3 separate regions of the Homo sapiens genome follow, and regions 2 and 3 are each linked to region 1. The links are contacts of gene promoters, found by promoter capture Hi-C in blood cells and fetal thymus (Javierre and others, 2016). All regions are on one chromosome and are shown on one strand. Each heading gives the region's core, a stretch centred on a gene start or on the middle of the fragment in contact. The rest is flanking DNA. Distances are from core to core; before and after follow the strand shown.

What was found. The method cuts DNA at HindIII sites, captures the fragments that hold promoters and counts their contacts. A CHiCAGO score of 5 or more calls a contact.
Region 2: a contact is called between a fragment that was not itself captured here and the fragment with the promoter of CFL2 in region 1, in 1 of 17 cell types (total B cells). The highest score is 5.2, in total B cells.
Region 3: a contact is called between a fragment that was not itself captured here and the fragment with the promoter of CFL2 in region 1, in 1 of 17 cell types (M0 macrophages). The highest score is 5.4, in M0 macrophages.

The regions. Positions count from the first base shown.
Region 1 is chr14:34,712,104-34,716,616 of GRCh38, forward strand. CFL2 (cofilin 2) reads right to left here and starts at 2,490. Exons shown (of 4, transcript NM_138638.5): 1 at 2,435-2,490; 2 at 1,151-1,458; 3 at 957-1,033; 4 at 1-874. The coding sequence starts at 2,437. The coding sequence ends at 762. RefSeq lists silencers at 2,187-2,246, 2,337-2,926. The HindIII fragment of the contact is 2,283 bases long and covers 1,977-4,259 here.
Region 2 is chr14:30,987,641-30,992,153 of GRCh38, forward strand. All of the region lies in intron 1 of STRN3 (striatin 3), which reads right to left. Among named protein-coding and RNA genes, the nearest start is that of MIR624, 25 kb to the right of the region's middle. The HindIII fragment of the contact is 2,806 bases long and covers 1,105-3,910 here.
Region 3 is chr14:31,378,336-31,382,848 of GRCh38, forward strand. It overlaps HEATR5A (HEAT repeat containing 5A), which reads right to left. Exons shown (of 36, transcript NM_015473.4): 11 at 2,132-2,243. Among named protein-coding and RNA genes, the nearest start is that of HEATR5A, 40 kb to the right of the region's middle. The HindIII fragment of the contact is 5,231 bases long and covers 1-4,513 here.

The DNA.
Region 1 (4,513 bases), core at 1,240-3,739:
ACAGAAATTGCCATCATGACTGATATTCAAAATATCTTTAGTGTTGCAGGACTCACATGGTAAACATAAAACTCCTACACTTATTCAGTAGTGTACACTCAATGGAAAACAAAAAGGCATTAATAACAGCTATTTCTTTTAAGAAGATATGCAGGTAACAGGAATGAACACTGAGGTACTAGGATAAGTTGATGACACAGTTAACAAAACTTAATTGGCATTCCTTTTAGGATATTAAACTTATTACAAAAAGTGCTTTTAATGCATAGTGTTATATCCGTGCTGCCATATCACTAAAATAGGCTTGCCAAGGCAGGTGAGGTGTATGAATGCTCAAGCCTCACAGAACTGCAATCAAGTGCCAACTATAAATAATACTGAAAAAAGTTGACCATCTGACCAGTGGATAATACTTTCAAGGCATTCAATTAGCTTATCCTTTGCAGTATTCTAAGCTATTCACATTGACGATCACATACATTGTAGTGCTTGCTGCAAGGGAGGCATATAACCAGTTGTTTTGGCTAAAATATGACAGGAAGGCATTCCTTGGGTTCTATATAAAAGTAACAGTATTCAACAGTCTAATGGCAATCACTGATAGGCTGCTTAAATAAATGATATTTCCTTCATTCATTGTGTTGGAAGGGCCCAGTGGAAAGGGGGAAATACAACAAAAAACCAAAACCTAATACTATTCCAATGGACTGAGCTGGAGAAATGGAAGCTCCTTAAGATCCAGATGGCACTTGACTGTCATTTTATAATGGTTTTCCTTCAAGTGAAACTACTACATTGCCTCCCAATTTCTCTCCAAGTGTCGAACGGTCCTTAATATCATCCAAGCCATTTACTTGCCACTCATGTTTAATACCTAAAAAGAAAAAACATTATCCTATTACTTTATTATAATTAATAAAGAATAATTTCTCTGCCCCAAATATTCAAGTTTGTACCTGTAAATTTCTTTTTAATGGCATCTTTAGAGCTAGCATAAATCATCTTGCTTTTTAAAGGTGCACTTTCAGGAGCCCTACAGAAAAAAAAAAAATTATTGAATCCCATTTATAAGAAAAACAAAGGTAAGACTGACTATGATAATAATAATCCTTGCATTTTAAAAGTACTTTTTTCTTTTGTTTTTACACACCAGAATATAAATACTAGGTCTTCTTTCTTAGACTCTTTTGTTTCGTATGTGGCATCGTACAAAGCATATCGGCAATCATTCAGAGGTAGCAACTTCACAAAAGATGTGTAGGGGTCCTCTACAGTATCACCAATGTCACCCACCAAGATCTGCTTTGCTTCCTCTACAATTATTTGTCTTTTGTCATCGCTTAAACAGAAGAGAACTGCTTTCTTTCTCTTTTTGATCTCCTCTTGTGTAGAAGATTTCCTTACTTTCATATCATTAAAAACTTTGATGACTTCATCATTCACTGTAACTCCAGAAGCCTGAAAATAAACACAGAACAGTAATTCAGAACACGTATTTTGGTTTTAACCAAAATTACTGTTTGCCTAGAGAAGACTCACTTTAGTCTGGACATCAAAAATTGCACCGTACCATGTAAGTCGTCCAATCAGATTTGTCACATTTTAAGAATCAGTAGACGATACAGCGAAGGAGTCTAACTCATCCTGCCCATTCATCCTTCTTAAAGGGGTTTGGACGTGGAAGCGAAAGGGACAAATACAAGTTGTCCCATCCCTGAAATGTTTCCTATTTCACTGGGTGATGTCAGAGCTTCAGGAGTGGCAGCAAAAATACCTTCTGTATTGTGTCAACTCGGCTGGCCTTAAAAAAACACTTTTGGATTTCAGTTAATGCTTCTACTATTTTTTTCTTTAAAGTCATCCTAGCCACTGACGTTTCCTCATAAGGAAAGAGAATCAAGTGTAAACTCCAAACCGCCCACGGCCCACACACAGCTCACATGCAGACACTCCAAAACTAACTGATCGAGTGTAAAAGCTTTTACGGCGAGAAAGCATTTTAAAAAGTGTTTTCCCTCTTCCTTAATCTCCCCGTAAGGGTTTTATTACAGGCCGTCCAGACCCTGACCCACACAGCGTTCGCAGCACGTACCAATTTTAAAGCCTCGCGTGTTAAGTAAAATTAGGAAGCGAAGGGCAAAGGCGGCGCGAGCGGCTGCAGTCCGCAGACCCTCTCGCGCCCCCGCCCGCCCGGCCCCGACCCCCAACCTGCGCCGACGCCCGGGCCCTCCCCGCCCCCCAAAATCCAAAGAGCAGCAGGGCAGGGCCTGACGGCCGGAGGGCAGGCCGGTCGGCTGGAGAGCAGCGGAGCCGCAGAGCAGAAGCGCCCACCTTGGAGGCCAAAATCAGGTTAAAATGGCGGCCTCACTCCCGGGGCCGTGCGGGGGGCTTTTCTCGCCTCGCCGCGGCCTCCCGGCCAGCGCGCTCGTCTTACCATAGTGCCCTCGGCTGTGGCTGCGGCGGCAGCTCGGGCTTCGGCTCTGTGGCACTGGGAGGAGAAGGAGGGGCGGGCGAGCGGGTGGGCAGCGGAGAGTGCGGGGCACGCCGGGAGCTGCAGCCCGAGGGAGGTGGCGGGGCTCGGCGGGCCGCAGGCAGCGGGCGGGGCGGTCACGTGGGCACGCCTGGTCCCCAGCCGGCGCCACCCGCTCCCAGGCCGGCCCTTCTGTCTCGCGGCCCCGGCTCCCCGGCTGTCCGCGTCCTCGGCCTGACCTCAGAGCGCGAGCCCTGCAGGCCGGGGGGGGCGACGCGGTGGTAGCGGAGCCCGGGAGCCTGGCAGAGCCGCCTCCAGCCCCCGAGCATCACCCGTCAAGCCGGTGGGAGAGAGTGCTGGGCTCCCAGAGGGGCGTTTCCACCGCCTCCGTAGGGCCCTGCGCCAGGGGTGGGTGCGTGTGAGGGGAACTCCTGCGAAGGTGTCTTTCCTTATTTACCTGTGGTTTTCCCGAAAGAGGCTGGATTTCGACATTTTGAGTCTTTTTGGAAAACCCCCAGTTGTTTAGAGATAAATGAGAATAAATACTACACGAGATTGCTCCAGTTGATAGTACTTAGCAAAAACAAAATGATACGCAGTGTTGGTAAATCACTTTTCAAAACTCTGGTTGAAATAATAATTATGATTAAAAAATTACGTGGTAGCATTCCTTAGTAATATCCTTTTACATTTTAGACTTCATAGGAAATGGATTGTACTCTCTCTTAGAGATTTCATGAAGCTCCAGCTATGACAGCTGATATCAAATAAGCCGACGCAGCCTCTTCTAGCAAAGCCCATATAACTGCGCCAAGGCAGTTTCTCTTTTTTTAATCTTAACTCCTCCATACCTCAGGGTTCTTCATGTGTAAAACAAACTGTTATTAAATTATCGTTAAGGCCCTTTCCAGCTTTAGATTTCAGTTTCTGAGTATATCAATGTTCAGTAGGAAATGGTGTGTTTTTGGTGGTCTCAGGATTGAGGTTAGGCAGGAAAGTCATGAGATGGTGTTTGCCCTAGATTGCGTGATAAGTTCTTTCAGCCCAAATTTACTGTATTTTAAATGGAACATGCTAGGCATTGAAACAGACCTATTTTTCTGTCTATATCTTGGGTTTGTTTTCTTAATTGGAAGATAGACTTCGTTTAGAGACAAAAATTGAGAAGGGATTTCCCAATGTCTAAGCATGAATCCCAAGCAAGTGGATAATACTTTATATCTAGCTGGTACATTACAATTTATGGAACCTTTCACTTTATCTGTTGAACTTCCAAGAAGTCATGGAGAATGTCTCTCCAGAGCTCTGATCATCTGCTATGTGTAGGTATTAGCAAATTCCTGTTCGCTTCATCTTGCGGTTACCTTCCCTTCCCAACCTCAGAGATTTGCAGCAGCCCCAGCAGAGACCAGGTCTGATGACACTGGGGCCTAAAGTGGGTGTCAGAACCTTACCCACCAAAGCTGGGGATTCCAAAGATGCTAGTCACCCCCTAGCTCGGACTCCAACCCCTTTCCATGCCTCCCATTCTCTCTTACCCTCCCCAAACAGAGATGGTAATTCACATGTTCTAAGATTCTTTTCCTGAAGTTATTTTTGTCTTGCATATATTTTGTTACATTATAATAACTTGTTTATGTCTTCTGCCACCCTACTGCGCTGTAAGCTCCTTAAGGATCTGAGTCCTGGTTATCTTTGAATTTCTGGAACCTGACAGATAGTAGGTGCTTAATAGGTGCTGAAATAATACATTTAAGATGCTTTAGTGCTGTAAAGAGAATGAAAAGGAAGCTTCTGAAAATTGTGAAGCCTTTCTACATGCCCTTGTGAGCATGGCACTGAGAATGTCAGGGCCAGTAGCAGCTTCCTGCCTTCACCTCTGTGAGTTATAACCAGAACTTACCACCACTTGGTAAAGGGGCAGCATTGCCAATCATTGCTGCATGAATTTTGGTCACTGTGTAGTGGAGGGGGATCTGAGTGTCAGATACCACATGTATTAGCGTTCGACTGTTGCTATAACAAATTACCATAAAATTACTT
Region 2 (4,513 bases), core at 1,258-3,757, 3.7 Mb before region 1:
AACAATAAAATAATCAATATTTGCATTCCAGAAAGATTATTCTGACTACTCGCTGTGATTCTGCCCACAATATTTTCTTACATTCAATCAGTTGAATATAATTTTTTTTTTTTTTGAGACAGACTCTCGTTCTGTTGCCCAGGCTGGAGTGCAGTGGCGCGCGGTCTTGGTACTGCAACCTCTGCCTCCCGGGTTCAAGCAATTCTCCTGCCTCAGCCTCCCAAGTAGCTGGGATTACAGGTGTGTGCCACCATGCCCAGCTAATTTTTGTATTTTTAGTAGAGACGGGGTTTCACCATGTTGGTCAGGCTGGTCTTGAACTCCTGACCTTGTGAATCGCCCGCCTAGGCCTCCCAACGTGCTGGGACTACAGGCGTAAGCCACCGCGTCCAGCTGTTTTTCTCACTTCTTGCAGTGCTTTCTTCCAAATGTCTTGTATATTAAAGCAAGTTTTACATTCCTTCACTGGACTGTGAGCCCTGAACAGAAGCCAAGTCTTCCATTATTCCAAACATTCAATAAATGTTTATTATACTGAACAAGACTAACACTGATTTGACATATTAAAAAACAATGTCCAAGATGCTCAGCTAGGTCCTGTGACACGAGCAGCACTTTGGCCTCATAAGCAAATCCTAAAAGGTATTATCAACCAAACTCTGACCCTTATACTCAAACTAAAATTAATAAACAAAAAGCTGTTCCAGGTATTAACTTTTCTAAGCTTATCTCTTTATGCCCCTTTCTGCTAGCACCACAACCTATTTTTATTTGTTATTTACCTTTCTTAATTTTACCAAATATATTTACTCAACGAACATATACAATACAAAGTAGAAATCTGCTGAGCCCAACTACAACAAAATTAAAGCATATCAATGAATGGAGATGAAACAGCAAAACTTGGTTGGAATGCAAATTTATTCCTTAAAATCTGAACATTTAAAAAGAGAAAGAGAATAATTAATAAAGAAAATGAAGTCATGGTACAATTATAAAGCAGGTCCTCTCACTTTTCTCTGACAAAGTTTTGAATGACTCATCTACTGTCCTAACAGGCTATTTTCAAGGTTCTCTCCATTCTACCATTATCCTACATTTTCAAGCTTATTTTTCATCATTCCTCTGTACTCTACCACAAGTGAAACATGCAACATTCCTCAAAAAAGACCTTGCACTTTACAGCCATCCAACTTTTGTTCACACTATTTATACCACAGGAAGTGAATATTCCAGCTCTATAATCTCCACTTCCAATAATGAATTATAATTATTTTACAAATTAGGCAACTAAGCCACCCCCTCTGGAAGTAAAGTGTCTTGCTCACGGACACTGTCTTGGCTAGTAAGATAGAAGAATCAGGACAGTAGATCTCAAGTCTACTGGCTTCCCAGGGTCCAATGCCTTCACTACCCCAGGTAGATTCTTAACCTTCAAAAATAAAAAGACTCATATGAAAAGGAATTTGAATCATCCACAGAAAGTAGTCTGGTCAAGTTCAAGATAAAGAGAGGGGTCAGTTACCTTATTCTTTGGCCCACTAAGCAATCACTTAAAGACCCCTGTTCTAGTAACCTGCCCAGCCTGGACCCTGCCACAAACAGATTCTGACTACCTTCTTCACCGTGAACTTCCTCTATCTTCACAGCAATGGCACCCATACCTGGAAGAGATGGCTTGCTGTTATATACCTAGGCCTGACTTCAAAAGCCTTCCTCTTCATGGCAGCCCAATGATATAGTGACTATTTCTCCAAAGGTAGTAGATTGGGAGGTAGCGAGACAGCAGCAACAAAACAGTCATTTAAACACAGGATTTTTATTTATTTATTTATTTTGAGATGGAGTCTGGCTCTGTCGCCCAGGCTGGAGTGCAGTGGCGCAATCTCAACTCACTGCAAGCTCCACCTCCCAGATTCACGCCATTCTCCTGCCTCAGCCTCCCGAGTAGCTGGGACTACAGGTGCCCGCCACCTCGCCTGGCTAATTTTTTTGTATTTTTAGAGATGGGGTTTCACTGTGTTAGCCAGGATGGTCTCTATCTCCTGACCTCGTGATCCATCCGCCTCAGCCTCCCAAAGTGCTGGGATTACAGGCGTGAGCCACCGCGCCCGGACAAAACACAGGATTTATAGCCAGACGGTAGGAGATTCCAATGCATAATTCCAACCCTAACACATACTAACTCATGTGACCCTGGGCAAATTAATTACCTCAGTTTCCATATCTATGAAATGGGATGATTAATATGAATTGTCTGTCATCAGTTATTGAAAGACTCACAATGGTGACAATGAAGACTAAATCAAAAAAATGGAAGGCTCAGATACTTTAAGAGCATGTGTGTCATTTCAATTCAGAAATGTGGAATGGGACAGAACAAGAGGCTATAAACTCAGGAAAGAGGGACTCCTATACACATTTCCTGAAAAAATCCCTGGGCCTAATGACTCAAGGAGTTAAAGAGAAGTAACAGTAAACCAGAGTGGCAAGAGTGTTCTAGCAGTCTTCTGAGGGCACTATGACTTTTTTTTTTTTTTGAGATGGAGTATCACTCTGTTACCCAGGCTGGAGTACAGTGGCGCAATCTCGGCTCACTGCAAGCTCTGCCTCTCGGGTTCATGCCATTCTCCTGCCTCAGCCTCCCAAGTAGCTGGGACTATAGGTGCCCGCCACCAGCACACCCGGCTAATTTTTTTTTGCATTTTTAGTAGAGACGGGGTTTCACCGTATTAGCCAGGATGGTCTCGATCTCCTGATCTCATGATCCGCCCGCCTCAGACTCCCAAAGTGCTGGGATTACAGGCCTGAGCCACCGCGCCCGGCCAAAGGGCACTATGACTTTTAAGAGATGGCATGTACTTGATATGCAAAAGGGGAGACAGGTTCCTTAACTTATAATGAAGACCACAGAATTTAGGGTGTATATGAGTGCCAAAAAATGTGACCATGACTTGTCTCCCTAAAGCTGACACAGCACAGATTTCATCTGTTAAAATACAGTTGGCCCTCACTATCTGTGAGGGAGCGGTTTCAGGACCCTCCTAGGATACCAAAACGCAGAGATGCTCAAGCCCTTTATATAAAATGGTGTAGTATTTGCATATAACCTATGCATATCCTCCCATATACTTTAAATTATCTCTTGATTACTTTAAATACCTAATACAATGTAGGTGCATGTAAATAGTTGTTATATTATACTGTTTAGGGAATAATGACAAAGAAAAAAGTCTGTACATGTGCAGTACAGATGCAACAGTCCTTTCTTTTCCTTGAATATTTATGATTCACAGCTGGTTGAACTCAAGGATGTGGAACCCACAGATACAGAGGGGCAGCTGTACCAGAAAAGGAAGGAATTAAGACATAGCATTAACATCATCACAGCTTACTCTTGACTAATATGAGAAAGAGAAGATACAGTCTAATCATTAGCTGCTTCAGAAACAGGCCAGCAGTATTTCTAGGTTTTATTTTCAGCTTGGTTTTGACCAGGTATGATCATACCATTTGGTTTGAAGTTCCTACTATTAAGAGGTCATGTGGAGTAGGGCAAGGTATGAGGTAACCTATTTCTCCTCCATTAGATTTGAAGTTACCTGAATAAAAGAACTTATGTTCAACTCTGTATCACACAGAGTTCCTTCAACCTATGAGAAACACAAATTTGTTGAAATAATATGAGTACTAGTATTCATTCTTTCATTCTGGGGTACAATCATACATAGGGCAATACAATCCCTACCCTCACAGAGATTACAGCCTACTGTTAAAGATAAAGTAAATAGGACAGGCATCTGTAATGCAGGTTAATAAATATTATAATAATGGAAGTTCATCACATAGGAGGAATACCTCATTTACACTTGCAGGCTCAAAAATGTTTTCCCAGAGGAAATGATAGCTAAGCTTTGACCTGAAGAGAACTCAGATCAAATGGGAGAGGAAGTGTTCTAAGCAGAGGAAACAGTATGTGTGAAGGGCTGGAGAAGATACACTAACTTTACCAGAGTTTAGGGAAATAAAGAATGGCTGGAACTTTATTTTGAGTGTGTGTTTGGGGGTGAGGGTGAGAGGAAGAGGGTAGAGGAGAGGAGGAGGAAGAGACGGAACATAAAACCGAAAGGTTAGAAGAAGCCATATTATAAAAGACCTTATCAGAAAATGTCATTAAAGGTTGGGAGCAGTGGTTCACCTGTAATCCCAGTACTTGGGGAGGCATGCTTGTGGCCAGGAGTCCAAGACCAGCCTAGTCAACATAGCAAGACCCCTTCTCTATTCTTTAAAAAAAAAAAAAAGTAAAAACAAATAAATAAAACATCATTAAAAAGTTTTATTTGAATATATCAGTCCATACGACTATTAAAAATGTTTTTGACAATTCTTTTTGGACATTCTCAAACACAACAGTAGAGATAATAGTATATGGAAAACTCAACAACAACAACAACAACACAAAAAAAGCAATTTTAAAAAGGCAAAGGGGCCGGGTGCAGTGGCTCATGCCTGT
Region 3 (4,513 bases), core at 1,135-3,634, 3.3 Mb before region 1:
ATTCTCATGTATTACAAAATATCTTTTTTCCCCAACCACTAATAAATATAAAAACTGTTCTTAGCTCACAGGCTGTATAATAAATATTGGTAGTAGGCCAAATTTGGCTCCTTGAAGCTAAACTTGATCTAGTCCAATAAATCTCTTTAATCATCTTAAGAACACTACTTGGCCAGGTGCGGTGGCTCACGCCTGTAATCCCAGCGCTTTGGGAGGCCGAGGCAGGTGGATCACGAAGTCAGCACATCGAGGCCATCCTGGCTAACATGGTGAAACCCCGTCTCTACTAAAAAATACAAAAAATTAGCCAGGTGTGGTGGTGGGCGCCTGTAGTCCCAGCTACTCGGGAGGCTGAGGCAGGAGAATGGCATGAACCCAGGAGGTAGAGCTTGCAGTGAGCCGAGATCGCGCCACTGCACTCCAGCCTGGGTGACAAAGTGAGACTCCACCTCAAAAAAAAACAAACAAAAAAAAAAAACACTACTTAAAGTAGTTCTTCATTTATGATTGTTTATTCTAATTTAAGCTCCTTTAGGTCAAATTACTTTATAGGTGTCAAAATGATTTATCGGCCAAATCAGGTCAGTTGCTTTATTTTATTATTATTTTTTATTTTTATTTTTTGAGACGGAGTCTTGTTCTGTCACCCAGGCTGGAGTGCAGTGGCATGATCTCAGCTCACTGCAACCTCTGCCTCCTGGGTTCAAGCAATTCTCCTGCCTCAGCCTCCCCTGTAGCTGGGACTACAGGCACATGCCACCATGTCTGGCTAATTTTTGTATTTTTTTTAGTAGAAGCAAGATTTCACCGTGTTGTTGGCCAGGCTGGTCTTGAACTCCTGACCTCAGATGATCCGCCCGCCTAGGCCTCCCAAAGTGCTAGGATTACGGCGTGAGCCACTGCGCCCGAACTATTCATTTTTTGTTTTATTTTGAGAGGGAGTCTTGCTCTGTCACCCAAGCTGGAGTGCAGTGGTGCAATCTCACTTCACTGCAACCTCCACCTCCTGGGTTCAAGCAATTCTCCTGCCTCAGCTTCCCGAGTAGCTGGGACTACAGGCATGCACCACCATGCCCGGCTAATTTTTGTATTTTAGTAGAGATGGGGTTTCACCTTGTTGGCCAGGCTGATCTTGAACTCCTGACCTCAAGTGATCCACCCGCCTCAGCCTCCCAAAGTGCGGGGATTACAAGCGTGAGCCACCATGCCCAGCCTCAGCCAGTTGTTTTATATCTAGCTATAACTTGTATGACAACAGAGACTTAAAATATAGGTGTGATAGAGTAATAAAATTAAGTTTCATTAGCACCATAAGACTGGGCAAAAAATAAATAAATAAAGTTTTCAGTGGCTCATGCTTATAATGCCAACACTTTGGGAGGCCAAGGCGGAAGGACTGCTTGAGCCCACAAGTTCGAGACGAGCCTGGGCAACATAGTGAGACCCCATCTCTACAAAAAAAATTTTTTTAAATTAGCCAGGCATGATGTTGCATGCCTATGGTCCCAGCTACTTGGGAGGCTTAGGTAGGAGGATCACTTGGGCCCAGGAGGTCAAGGCTGCAGTGAGCCATGATCATGCCACTGCACTCCAGCTCGTGTGACAGAGTGAGACCCTGTCTCAAAAATTTAGAGGATATAAATAGTCATGACTGTAAAACAATTACTGTTTTTTAATAAATATAATTTAAGTAAAATTCATCCCCTTCAATGTAGCAACCTTATTGGCTGTTATGAATCCTCAAACAATTATAGAACTGGATTCCCAAGCTATGGGTATGTTCTTTTGCCTATATTGTGGAAATGTTTTTTTCTGAAGATGGATGTCAATGATTTTTGAAAAAGCCACAGTTGTTCAGAGTTAAGCCTGAAAGATGATTAGTAACTCGGCTTATCCTACTTGAGGCTTATCATCTAGCCCGGAAGAGAAAATCAAGAGAGATCTCAAAAGGTTTTAAGCAATGACGAAAGTAAAAGGCTTTTTAAGGTGACTACTACAAGAAAAATGTTTGTGTGGCTATTTAAATTCTGGTATGTATTAAAAGTTCATTTCATCAAATCACATATAAGAATCATTTCACTCAGAAAACACAAAGTATTTCAAGGTATGTAAACCTTCTACAGACTGTTACCTAATGTCATCAGAGCAGAAATCAGCAACCATCCAGCTTGTGTGCGCTGAGCTGAAAGGCGACTGTTTTGAGCAGCAGAACACAGCAAATCCTCTGCTAATGTCATAATAATCTATTTACATATAGAACAAGTTTTAAAAAAAGCATATCAGTTTATAAATTACTAAATGATAGCAGCTAACAATATCTTGAAAAATTAATTCTTACATAAAATAAATGTAAACGATAAAGAACTGTCATTCGTGTAGACTACATAATAGGACTGTCATAAAGGAAACTATAAAAAATTAAGTTTTCAAGGTTAAATACTGGTATATGAGGTAGTACACAACAATCCCATAATTTTTTGTAGAACACATGTGACAACAATGTAAGATTATTCAAGTATAGCTGTATAGAATTTGAATTTACTTTTAGTTTTGAGCAACTATCCTTTTAAATCCATAATTATCCAAAAAAAGTTTTCTTACAGGAGTCTCTCTCTTAAAAATGCTACATACAGCCAGGTGCGGTGGCTCACGCCTGTAATCCCAGCACTTTGGGAGGCTGAGGCGGGTGGATCACAAAGTCAGGAGATCGAGACCATCCTGGCTAGCACAGTGAAACCCCATCTCTACTAAAAATACAAAAAATTAGCCGGGCGTGGTGGCACATGCCTGTAGTCCCAGCTACTCGGGAGGCTGAGGCAGAAGAATCGCTTGAACCCAGGAGGCAGAGGTTGTAGTGAGCTGAGATTATGCCACTGAAACTCCAGCCTGGGCAACAGAGTGAGACTCAGTCTCAACAACAAAAAAAAGCTACATACTACTTTTGTAACTCAGTAGCTGATAATAGTCTTCCAAGAGGTAGTATACTATAGTGGTTAGAGGTAGTCAAAATAGTCTCATACTGAAGAGTGAAATTTATTAAAATGTTATAGTAAAAAAGTCTATGAGGCTGGGCACAGTGGCTCATGCCTGTAATCCCAACGACTCAGAAGGCCAAGGTGGGAGGACCAATTGAGGCCAGAAATTCAAGACCAGCCTAGGAGTGAGCTAGGATCACACCACTGCATTGCAGCCTGGGCAATAAAGAAAGACCATGTCTCCTTGGAAAAAAAAAAAAAAAAAAAAAAAGGACCAGCCTGGGCAACAGAGTGAGATCCTATCTTCACAAAAAAATAAAAAGAATTAGCCAGGCAATGGAATTACGTGCCTGTAGTTTCAGCCACTTGGGAGGCTGAGACGGGAAGATTGCTTGAGCCCTGGCATTTGAGGCTGCAGTGATCTATGATCTCGCCACTGCACTCTGGCCTAGGTGACAAAGCAAGACCCTGTTTCAAAAAAAGGGGTCCATGTTATAAAACAACAGAGAAGAAAAACAGGACATTTCACATTTATGGATAATGTATGCTTACACAGTACAAGGCCAGAGAGCATCTAATATGAGAAAACACCTATTACCAATCACCTCTGAAAAAGCAGGAAGTATTATGAGTTGGCATATAAATTTTCTAAAGAAGAAGGCTAGTGTATTTTAAACCAACCAACCAACTTACTACTAATTTAGGACTCCCTGCAGCTCATACAGTCAATGGATAGCACTCAAAAAGAGTGAGGACAAAACAAACCATTCTAGTCAAATCAGAACAAGTGGATAATTCTCTCGGAAAGAAATTCCAAATATAATATGGGAATGGGAACCTTGTCTGAATTAATGAGATATGAGAATAGGTTTAATTAAATACATTGAATGACAAGTCTTTGCTTAGCAAGATGTGATGTGTTAAGAATATAACTAAAATAATAAATTTAAATAATCTCATCTTCCAAAGTTGTCACCTACCTTATTTCAGTGGCATTGGCAATACTCAAAATATTTTTGGAATTGTTCAAGTTATGGAATGGTCTTCTGCAGAGCCTACACTATGGTGGATATACTATCAAACTCCATAATGACACAGGAGTGGCAATGAGAAAGAAAGGAATAATGGTGTATTTTTTTAAATATATTTACGAGTTTGTGAGAAGTATGGGTTAGAAGGGCTTTCACTGTCAAATAATGTTCTCTGACAACTTACAATTCCTAGCTATTAAAAAAGAAACAAAATTCAAACACCTTGCTTGCCTATGTTGTATTATCTAGGTTTCATTAAAATTTTTCTTTAGTTCTCTTCAAAATTCTTTGTACATTAAAACTGGGTTATTTATTCACTAGGTTTGTGTCATTTATTTGTCTGATTCTAAATTTACTCAGAAAATGACATTTTTTGGTAGCAATACAATTTGGAGAAGTTGAATATCATTATGAACTCATGAAATTTTATATATTATCTAGTATGTTTTAATTCACTGTAGTCATTATTAATTTTGATGTATAAATCATGCCATCTTTGATCAGTGG